Regions from separate parts of the Homo sapiens genome. Here region 1 is linked to region 2. Evidence: promoter capture Hi-C in human tissues and cell types (Jung and others, 2019). All regions are on one chromosome and are shown on one strand. The core of a region is centred on a gene start or on the middle of the fragment in contact, and the rest is flanking DNA. Distances in the headings are between cores, read along the strand shown. Region 1 overlaps CNIH2 (cornichon family AMPA receptor auxiliary protein 2). Region 2 holds the start of SCYL1 (SCY1 like pseudokinase 1).

Region 1 (4,388 bases), core at 1,889-4,388, 760 kb after region 2:
ACCGGCCAGGAGAAGCACCACTTAGATCTCAGCTGTGACTGTCAGTGAGCTCGGATTTCCTGCCCCACCAATCCTGAGACATGGACCAATCCTAAGACATGGACCTGACCACCCCACTCTGCTGCTGTGTACTCTTCAATGCCTCCCCCCAAAATTTTTGTGTTAAAGTAAGTCCAAACTCCTGCTCTGGCCTCACAGGGCGCCCATGTCTGGCTCTGCTGAATTCTCCAGCTCCTCTTCCACCACTCTCTCTTTTCTTCCTGCTCGCTGCGCTGTCACGCCAGCCCCATGAAACCCGCAGCCTCCTGAATGTCTCCTGACCTTTCACCCCTCTGCCATTGCACCTTCTACTGCTTGGACTGCATTTCCCCCATTTGCTCACCAACACCTACTCCGAGTCCAGCCTGAACTCCCTCACCCCCCACACAGGGTTAAGCGCCCACTCCAGGTCCTCCCTGTACCCCAAACCCTGATCACCTGGAAGGCAGAGTGATCATCCCTCTGGGCCTGGGTTCCTCCTGGGCAGGGGCTGCATCCCAGGCCTCTGGAGCCCCAGTGCTCAGCACAGGGCCTGAGACTTGGCAGGGCAGACACGAAGCCATGTCTTGGGATGTTTTGGAAGGGGGTGTAGTGGACATGGGCCTGAACTGGGCATCCAGACGCTAGGGTTCCCTTCTGGACTGTTGTAATGACCTTGGACCAGGCCCTGCTCCTCCCTGGACCTCGGTTTCTCCACCTTTGCAACAAGCTCCACCTGGCTGGTCCTCTTCAGTAAACTATCCCACAGAAGGACTTGGGGGAAGGCCATAAGCTGCTGCCCCAACCCTGACGGGCACACGCCCCTCCCCCAGATCATAGCCTTTGATGAGCTGCGGACCGACTTCAAGAACCCCATCGACCAGGGGAACCCTGCGCGGGCAGTAAGTGATACATGTGCTGTGCCGAGGTGTGTCCGTCCGTCTGTCTTTCCATCTGTCGTGGGCTGGGGGTGGGAGACGGGAAGACGGGGGTGGGGTGGGGGGCCTACGGCCATGCCCCCTTCCTCTCTGTCTCCGCCCCCAGCAAACACCTGGCGCGGGCTCAGGGCTGAGTTCCTCTTGGCGGGGCGGTGGTTGCCAGGCTCTGGGCCGTTGCCATGGAGACGCGGGTGAAGGCCCTTCCATGGTGACGGTCGCCATGGGGACGGCGCGGCTGCTTCCCGGCCGTGCCGACAGTGCCGCAGAGATCGCTCTGGCGCCCCCTGGCGGCCACATGTGGAGCGGTGGGAGCTGCTCCAGTACCTGCTTCTCCGCCACCCCATCGCGGCCTTTTCCTTCCCCCAACAGCGCGAGCGTTTAAAAAACATCGAACGCATCTGCTGCCTCCTGAGGAAGGTCAGTGTCAGGGCTGGGGGCAGGAGGCTCCTAGCCCAGCGCTGCCCCCACTGTCTGTGGCCCAGAACCAGGCCTTCCCCTGCTTTGGGCCTGTTTGATCCACTCTACTTGGGAGGGAGTGGGAAGCCAGAGGCCTTTTAATCCCCAGAGGTCACGGTGGGTGGGCACCTCCCAAACCCCAGCTCCTCTCTGTCCCCTTGAAGGCTGGTCTGTCATAGCACCAGGCCGCTGACCTCTCACCCTCACTCCCCCAGCTGGTGGTCCCAGAATACTCCATCCACGGCCTCTTCTGTCTGATGTTTCTGTGTGCAGCAGAGTGGGTGACCCTGGGCCTCAACATCCCCCTCCTCTTCTACCACCTCTGGAGGTGAGGGTAGCAGCTGCCTTGGGGAGGCTGAGATGGGGAACAGGGGCAGGATGGGGGTGGGAGTCCTGATGGCAGACACTCAGGCCCCTGTCTGCCCCAGGTACTTCCACCGTCCTGCAGATGGCTCTGAGGTCATGTATGATGCGGTCTCCATCATGAATGCTGACATTCTCAACTACTGCCAGAAGGAGTCCTGGTGCAAACTTGCCTTCTACCTGCTCTCCTTCTTCTATTACCTGTACAGGTGAGGCCTTGCCCACAGCAGTCAGAACTCAGGGAAGGGATGTCCCAGCATCACGCTTCCAATCCCAAGTTCCTGCCTTTTGCCCCTGAGGACTGAGGGCAGCCCAGGGTGTGACCAGGTGGGCATCTGGGTGGCTGTGTGTGTGCAGGGCTAGGCTCACTGGCTCATCTTCCTACAGTATGGTTTATACGTTGGTGAGTTTCTAAGGGGGAAGCCGGCCAGGGAGCGAGCCCAGAACGGACCGGACGCCTGTGCACCCCCAGCCCTGCCCCTTGGCCGCAGAGGCCTCAGCCCTGGGGAGGGAGGGGGCACTGGTGCCCCCAGCCTCTCCAACCCCCAAACTGCTGCTGCGGGGAACCCCCCCCACCCCGCCTTCAGAGCCCTCCCCCTTGGACTAGAGCGGCTGGGCAGAGCTCTAAACAGGGGCAGGGGCTCCTCTGCCAGCCTGTGGGCATGGCAGTCATTCCTGGAAGGGGCAGGACCTCCGGCCTTGTCCATTTCGGGGGAAACTTGGGCCCTGCCAAGGGGCAGAGCTTGACCCTGGAAATTCTGGGCCATCCCCCTCCACCCCCACCCTGAGGCTCCCCCTGCAGGTGGGGGGGTACCCGCACCGGGAATGAGCAGGCTCAGCAGGGGGGCAGCCCCACCCCTAGTCTGCCCTCCCCTCTCCCCCAGGCTCTTTCTCCAGCCCTGTCTCCATCTGCCCCAACCTCAGCCCACCTTGTCTCTTGGACCTATTTTCTATGTCGCCTGGAGGAGTCCGGCACCCCCTCCCCGGCCATTTGTGACAAAATATGAATAAACTACTGCAAATATGTGGGCCCCGGTTCTGCTCCTGGAAAGCTTGAAGAGGAGATGGGGGCCGATTACAGGGACTGTATAGGGGGCAGCCCTAAGCTGAATCCCCAGCCTGGCTTGTCTCACCCCACTAGCCCACAGACCCTGCTGGAGCCCCCCAGAGGGATCAGACGCCTTCCAGGTCCCCTCAGCAGCCTCCTTCCATCTTCTCTTTCCCAGCTGAGGCTGCTGAAACCCTTACAAGGCAGTATCAAGGTCACCAAAGTCATGAAGCCCTCCCTGGGTCCACCTTCTTCCTAGACGGCCCCAAGCCCGATCCCCTGGGCAATGCAGAGGCGCAGAGGTATCTGTAGCTCCCCATCAGGCCCCAGGAACAAGGGTCAGACAAAGTCAAGGAAATCAAATCTTCAATGAATGAAAAACTCAGTGCCATCTGGGGCCAGGGGGTCACCGGACCAGGTGGAAAGTCAGCCAGTATATGATGAGGGGCTGGAAGGCTGCAGCTCCCAGAGTCAGGTAGAGCTGGAGACGCTGCCGGGGGACGGGGCCCCCCATGCTGTCGGGGCCCAGGGCTGCTGTCCGCAAAGAGCGCACCTGGAAGAAAGGAGAACTGAAGCCTGGCCAGGAGGGGGAGGTTTGCCCTCAAGTGAAGGCAGGGGAATGGGGGGGTGCACCAGACTCACAATGAAGTACATGAGCGCCGATGAGGTCCAGGCCAGCGCCACGTAGTAGCCATCGCTGCCGAACAGCAGCCCCGTGAGCACACTGAGGATCATTCTGGGGGTGGGAGGAGGAAAGGGTTGGTGACCCCCAGGGGTCTAGGCCTGAGATTGGCCCTACCCCCAACGCCCAGAGCCCAGCTAGACCCCACCTCCCACAGCACCTTTTACTCTCAATCTGTCCCCACAGGGACCCAGACCCCAAAGGGATATGGAAGGCCCAGGACTCAGCCCCAGGACCTGGATCTGAGACCCCCTTCTCTCCCCAAGACTCGCAGAGTGACTCTCAACACCTCCCCAACCTCTGCATGGCACGCAGATCCTCAGGAGACTGCTGGAGACAGCTGCTCCCTCTTAACAGAGCAGTGCTAGAGGTCACTAGGGGCCGAGACATGTCCAGGGTCACAGTTCGAGGCTACAGCTATGCAGGCCCAGATCCAAGGCCACCTCCCCCTGGCCCACAAGTGCTCACCCCACGTATTTGTAGCCACTGTAGGCCAGCAGGTGAAAGGTGCTCAGGTCACTGCGCACGGTGGCCAGGTAGAGGCCCAGGAGCAGGGCCAGCACCTCCATCACCACCCACACCAGCGCTGTGCTTGCACACAGGCCCAGCACCTCCGGGGAGAACCTGCGCCAAAGCAGGGGTGGCTCAGAGCCAGGCATCCTGAGGCAGGGGTGAGGAAGAGAGACTGGGGCAACAGAGGGTGAGCTGGGGACCACCACATATGCCCTAGGGAGGTTGGGAGAAGAGCTCACAGGGAGGGGAGGGTAAGGGAGGGGCTTGGCACTGACCTTTTCTGAATGCCCAGTGCCATCCCAGCCAGGAGCACGTAAGTAATGAAGGCCATCGCTGCCAAGTGCCAGAGAGATGCCATCAGCTTGGCTTC
Region 2 (4,483 bases), core at 1,984-4,483:
TGTTCTCCCCCTGTGTGGAGACTAGAGATTGTAATAAATAAAGACACAAGACAAAGAGATAAAGAGAAAACAGCTGGGCCCCAGGGACCACTACCATCAAGACGCGGAGACCGGTAGTGGCCCCAAATGGCTGGGCTCGCTGATATTTATTGTATACAAGACAAGGGGGCAGGGTAAGGAGGGTGAATCTTCTAAGTGATTGACAAGGTGAAGCAGGTCAGGTGATTACAGGATAGGGGGCCCTTCCCTTTTAGGTAGCCGAAGCAGAGAGAGAAGGCAGCATACGTCAGCGTTTTCTTCTCTGCTCTTATAAGAAAGATCAAAGACTTTAAGACTTTCACTATTTCTTCTACCTCTATCTACTACGAATTTCAAAGACGAACCAGGAGTATGGGAGGAGCATGAAAGTGGACAAAGAGCGTGAGCATTGAAGCACAGCACCACAGGGAGGGGTTTAGGCTTCTGGATGACTGCGGGCAGGCCTGGATAATATCCAGCCTTCCACAAGAAGCTGGTGGAGCAGAGTGTCCCCTGACTCCTCCAAGGAAAGGAGACTCCCTTTCGCGGTCTGCTAAGTAACGGGTGCCTTCCCAGACACTGGCGTTACCGCTTGACCAAAGAGCCCTCAAGAGGCCCTTATGCGGGCGTGACAGAAGGCTCACCTCTTGCCTTCTAGGTCACTTCTCACAATGTCCCTTCAGCACCTGACCCTATACCCGCCGGTTATTCCTAGGTTATATTAGTAATGCAACAAAGAGTAATATTAAAAGCTAATGATTAATAATGCTTATAACAATGATTGATAATTGTTCATGACCATCTCTATATCTAATTTGTATTATGACTATTCTTATTCTAACTATTTTCTTTTTTATACTGAAACAGTTTGTGCCTTCAATCTCTTGCCTCCGCACCTAGGTATTCCTCCGCCCACACATATGTGGGGGAAAGGAAGCGAGATCAGACTGTTACTGTGTCTATGCAGAAAAAAAGAAGACATAAGAAACTCCGTTTTGATCTGTACTAAGAAAAATTCTTCTGCTTTGAGATGCTGTTAATCTGTAACTTTAGTTCCAACCCTGTGCTCACAGAAACATGCGCTGTATTGAATCAAGGTTTAAGGGATTTAGGGCTGTGCAGGATGTGCCTTGTTAACTATATGTTTGCAAGCAGTATGCTTGGTAAAAGTCATCGCCATTCTCCATTCTCTATTAACCAGGGACATGATGCACTGTGCAAAGCCACAGGGACCTCTGCCCGAGAAAGCCTGGGTATTGTCTCCCCGACTGAGACAGCCTGATATGGCCTTGTGGGAAGGGAAAGACCTTACCATCCCCCAGCCCGACACCCGTAAAGGGTCTGTGCTGAGAATTAGTAAAAGAGGAAGATCTCTTTGCGGTTGAGATAAGAGGAAGGCCTCTGTTTCCCGTATGTCCCTGGGAATGGAATGTCTTGGTGTAAAGCCCACCAGTCATTCTATTCTGAGATAGGAGAAAACTGCCCTATGGCTGGAGGTGAGATATGCTAGCGGTGATACTGCTCTGTTACTCTTTGCTACACTGAGATGTTTGGGTAAAGAGAAACATAAATCCAGCCTACGTGCACATCCGGGCACAGTACCTTCCCTTGAACTTATTTATGATGCAGATTCCTTTACTCACATGTTTTCCTGCTGACCTTCTTCCCACCATCACCCTGTTCTGCCGCAGTCCCCTTGCAGAGATAGTGAAAATAGTAATCAGTAAATACTGAGGGAACTGAGAGACCAGCGCCGGTGCAGGTCCTCGTATACTGAGTGTGCCGGTCCCCTGGGCCCACTGTTCTTTCTCTATACTTTGTGTCTTATTTCTTTTCTCAGTCTCTTGTCTCCACCTGACGAGAAATACCCACAGGTGTGGAGGGGCAGGCCCCCTTCAAACATGTTGGTCAGGCTGACCTGGAACTCCTGACCTCAGGTGATCCTCCAGCCTCGGCCTCCCAAAGTGCTGAGATTACAAGCGTGAACCACTGTGCCTGGCCCTCACCCCAGTTTATAGATGGGGGACCTAACGCACCCAAAGGGAACTGTGTGAGTTCTCACATCCAATGAGGGGCTGAACCGTGATTGAAACCCAGCACCGTCTCACTGTGGCATCTCTGCCCTTGAGTTATCTCCCAAAGGCATCCCAACCAGACTTTTCATAACCAGTCCCAGAATCTCACCAGTGCTCCATAGCTGTGGTTGAGGCACTGTCCCCAAGCCTGGGTCCTGAGACCCTACCAGCAGAAGAACCACTGCCTGTCCAGCCCCTCCTACACAGCTCAGGGGCTGGATCCCCACCAGTGTGATGTGCTGATTGAGCTAACACCACTCCATGGCTGTCTACACAGGCACTGAGAGATGCAATCCGTTGGCTTGAGAGCCGGGCAGCTGAGCCCAGGAGAGCAGGGTCCCCTCCCAGCCCTTTGGCCTCTTCCAGACCTGCCCAGTTGCTCCTTCTCCCTCCCTCCTTTCCTGGGGTCACTTCTTCTTCCCTCCTCAGTCTCTCCTTCCTCCATTCCCTGGGTGCCCGCCCCTGCCCCGGGGTTCTGGACCTCCTTGGAACCTTGGATTCACTCTCTGCCTCTCACCCACGCTCTTTCTCTGGGGCGTCTCCTCGTGCTTCTCTCATGGTCACTTCACCAGGACCGACTCCTCCCCGGAGCCTGGAGGCACCCACTTGCTGGTGGGAGAGAGTGTCTGGCGTGGGGCCAGTCTCCCTCTCTGGGTCTCTGCCTCACTCCTCACTGCACCCTCTCATGCCTGTCAGTCTTTCTACCTCTCCCCCTTTTTGCCTCGGTTTCCCCATCCCTCTGTCCCTTCTTAAGCTCTCATCCTTACAGTACGCTAGAAGGCAGGCTCTATTATCCTTTAGGATTTAGGCCTCTTTAGATAAAAGGGCTCACAGGCTTGGAGGGTTTTAAGTGACTTACCCGGCGGCGGAGTACTGATCTTAGTACCGCCCGCCGCCCCGGACTGCCCCGCCCCTCCCTAGCCCCCCCATCCCCGCCCCTCCCTAGCCCCCCCATCCCCGCCCCTCCCTAGCCCCCCCATCCCCGCCCCTCTCCCGCCCCTCCCTTGTCCCCGCCCCTTCCCGCCCCAACTCAGGTTCTGCCCCACCCCGCCCCAATTCACGTCCTGCTCCGCCCCGACGTAGGCCCCGCCCTGGCCCCCGGGCCCCGCCCCCGTCTGACGCAGGCCCCGCCCCCTCTCCGCCCCGCCCCGGCTCGGGCGGCCGGAGGACCCGGAGCTAAGGCGCCCGAACCCGCGGCGGCGGTGGGGACGATGTGGTTCTTTGCCCGGGACCCGGTCCGGGACTTTCCGTTCGAGCTCATCCCGGAGCCCCCAGAGGGCGGCCTGCCCGGGCCCTGGGCCCTGCACCGCGGCCGCAAGAAGGTGAGTGCGGCCGAGCTCCGTAGGCCGCGGTCGACCTGGGCCTTGCCTATTCCGCGCCGCCGACCCCGTCGCGTTGCGCCCGGCCTGACGTGGCGGCGGAACCAAGGGGTAGCAGGCCGGGGAGGGGGCGGGCAGTGCCTACGTGGCGGGCGGAGGGACCGAGGGACCGACAGGCGGACAGGGCCGGGGTCACGTGGGCCCGGCGAAGTGTCCCTAAGGCTGACCTGGGGAGAGACCTGGCTGCGGGCCCTTGTCTTCCGGCCACACAACAGCTCTGGGACCATCTCAGGCCCCGCTGCCCTCCCCTAGGCCACAGGCAGCCCCGTGTCCATCTTCGTCTATGATGTGAAGCCTGGCGCGGAAGAGCAGACCCAGGTGGCCAAAGCTGCCTTCAAGCGCTTCAAAACTCTACGGCACCCCAACATCCTGGCTTACATCGATGGACTGGAGGTACCTGCTGCCTTGCCTGCCCGTCTCTGCCCCTCACGATGTCCTGGTTACCCACTCCTGTCTCCCCTCCTGCCCTGTTTCCACCCTATGTGCCCCAGCACCCCCAGATTTGGTTTCCTCTTCCCCATCTCTCCCAACTTCAAGTCGCTTATCTCTCCTTCCTCTCTGCCCCTCCGCCCTTGATAACCCTGTGTCCCCTTCCCCAGACAGAAAAATGCCTCCACGTCGTGACAGAGGCTGTGACCCCGTTGGGAATATACCTCAAGGCGAGAGTGGAGGCTGGTGGCCTGAAGGAGCTGGAGATCTCCTGGGGGCTACACCAGATCGTGGTGAGGTGGGGGGCAGTGGTGATGAGAGCAGGGATGGGGGGTTGCAGGTGCTGGGGCGTGATGGCTCCTTTTGCCCCCAGAAAGCCCTCAGCTTCCTGGTCAACGACTGCAGCCTCATCCACAACAATGTCTGCATGGCCGCCGTGTTCGTGGACCGAGCTGGCGAGTGGAAGCTTGGGGGCCTGGACTACATGTATTCGGCCCAGGGCAACGGTGGGGGACCTCCCCGCAAGGGGATCCCCGAGCTTGAGCAGTATGACCCCCCGGAGTTGGCTGACAGCAGTGGCAG

The links. The method cuts DNA at HindIII sites, captures the fragments that hold promoters and counts their contacts. A contact is called where the count stands out against the background at its distance.
Region 1: a fragment that was not itself captured here is called in contact with the fragment with the promoter of SCYL1 in region 2 in 2 of the 25 tissues and cell types used here (dorsolateral prefrontal cortex and spleen).

What each region holds. Positions count from the first base shown.
Region 1 is chr11:66,281,408-66,285,795 of GRCh38, forward strand. CNIH2 (cornichon family AMPA receptor auxiliary protein 2) reads left to right here. Exons shown (of 6, transcript NM_182553.3): 2 at 852-920; 3 at 1,326-1,373; 4 at 1,628-1,740; 5 at 1,841-1,984; 6 at 2,163-2,799. The coding sequence ends at 2,190. It overlaps YIF1A (Yip1 interacting factor homolog A, membrane trafficking protein), which reads right to left. Exons shown (of 8, transcript NM_020470.3): 5 at 4,294-4,351; 6 at 3,974-4,129; 7 at 3,466-3,559; 8 at 3,173-3,376. The coding sequence ends at 3,230. Among named protein-coding and RNA genes, the nearest start is that of CNIH2, 5.4 kb to the left of the region's middle. RefSeq lists an enhancer at 1,039-1,542. The HindIII fragment of the contact is 4,602 bases long and covers 838-4,388 here.
Region 2 is chr11:65,521,850-65,526,332 of GRCh38, forward strand. It overlaps SCYL1 (SCY1 like pseudokinase 1), which reads left to right and starts at 3,234. Exons shown (of 18, transcript NM_020680.4): 1 at 3,234-3,415; 2 at 3,725-3,865; 3 at 4,072-4,194; 4 at 4,275-4,483. The coding sequence starts at 3,305. RefSeq lists a silencer at 3,082-3,581. The HindIII fragment of the contact is 17,278 bases long and covers 1-4,483 here.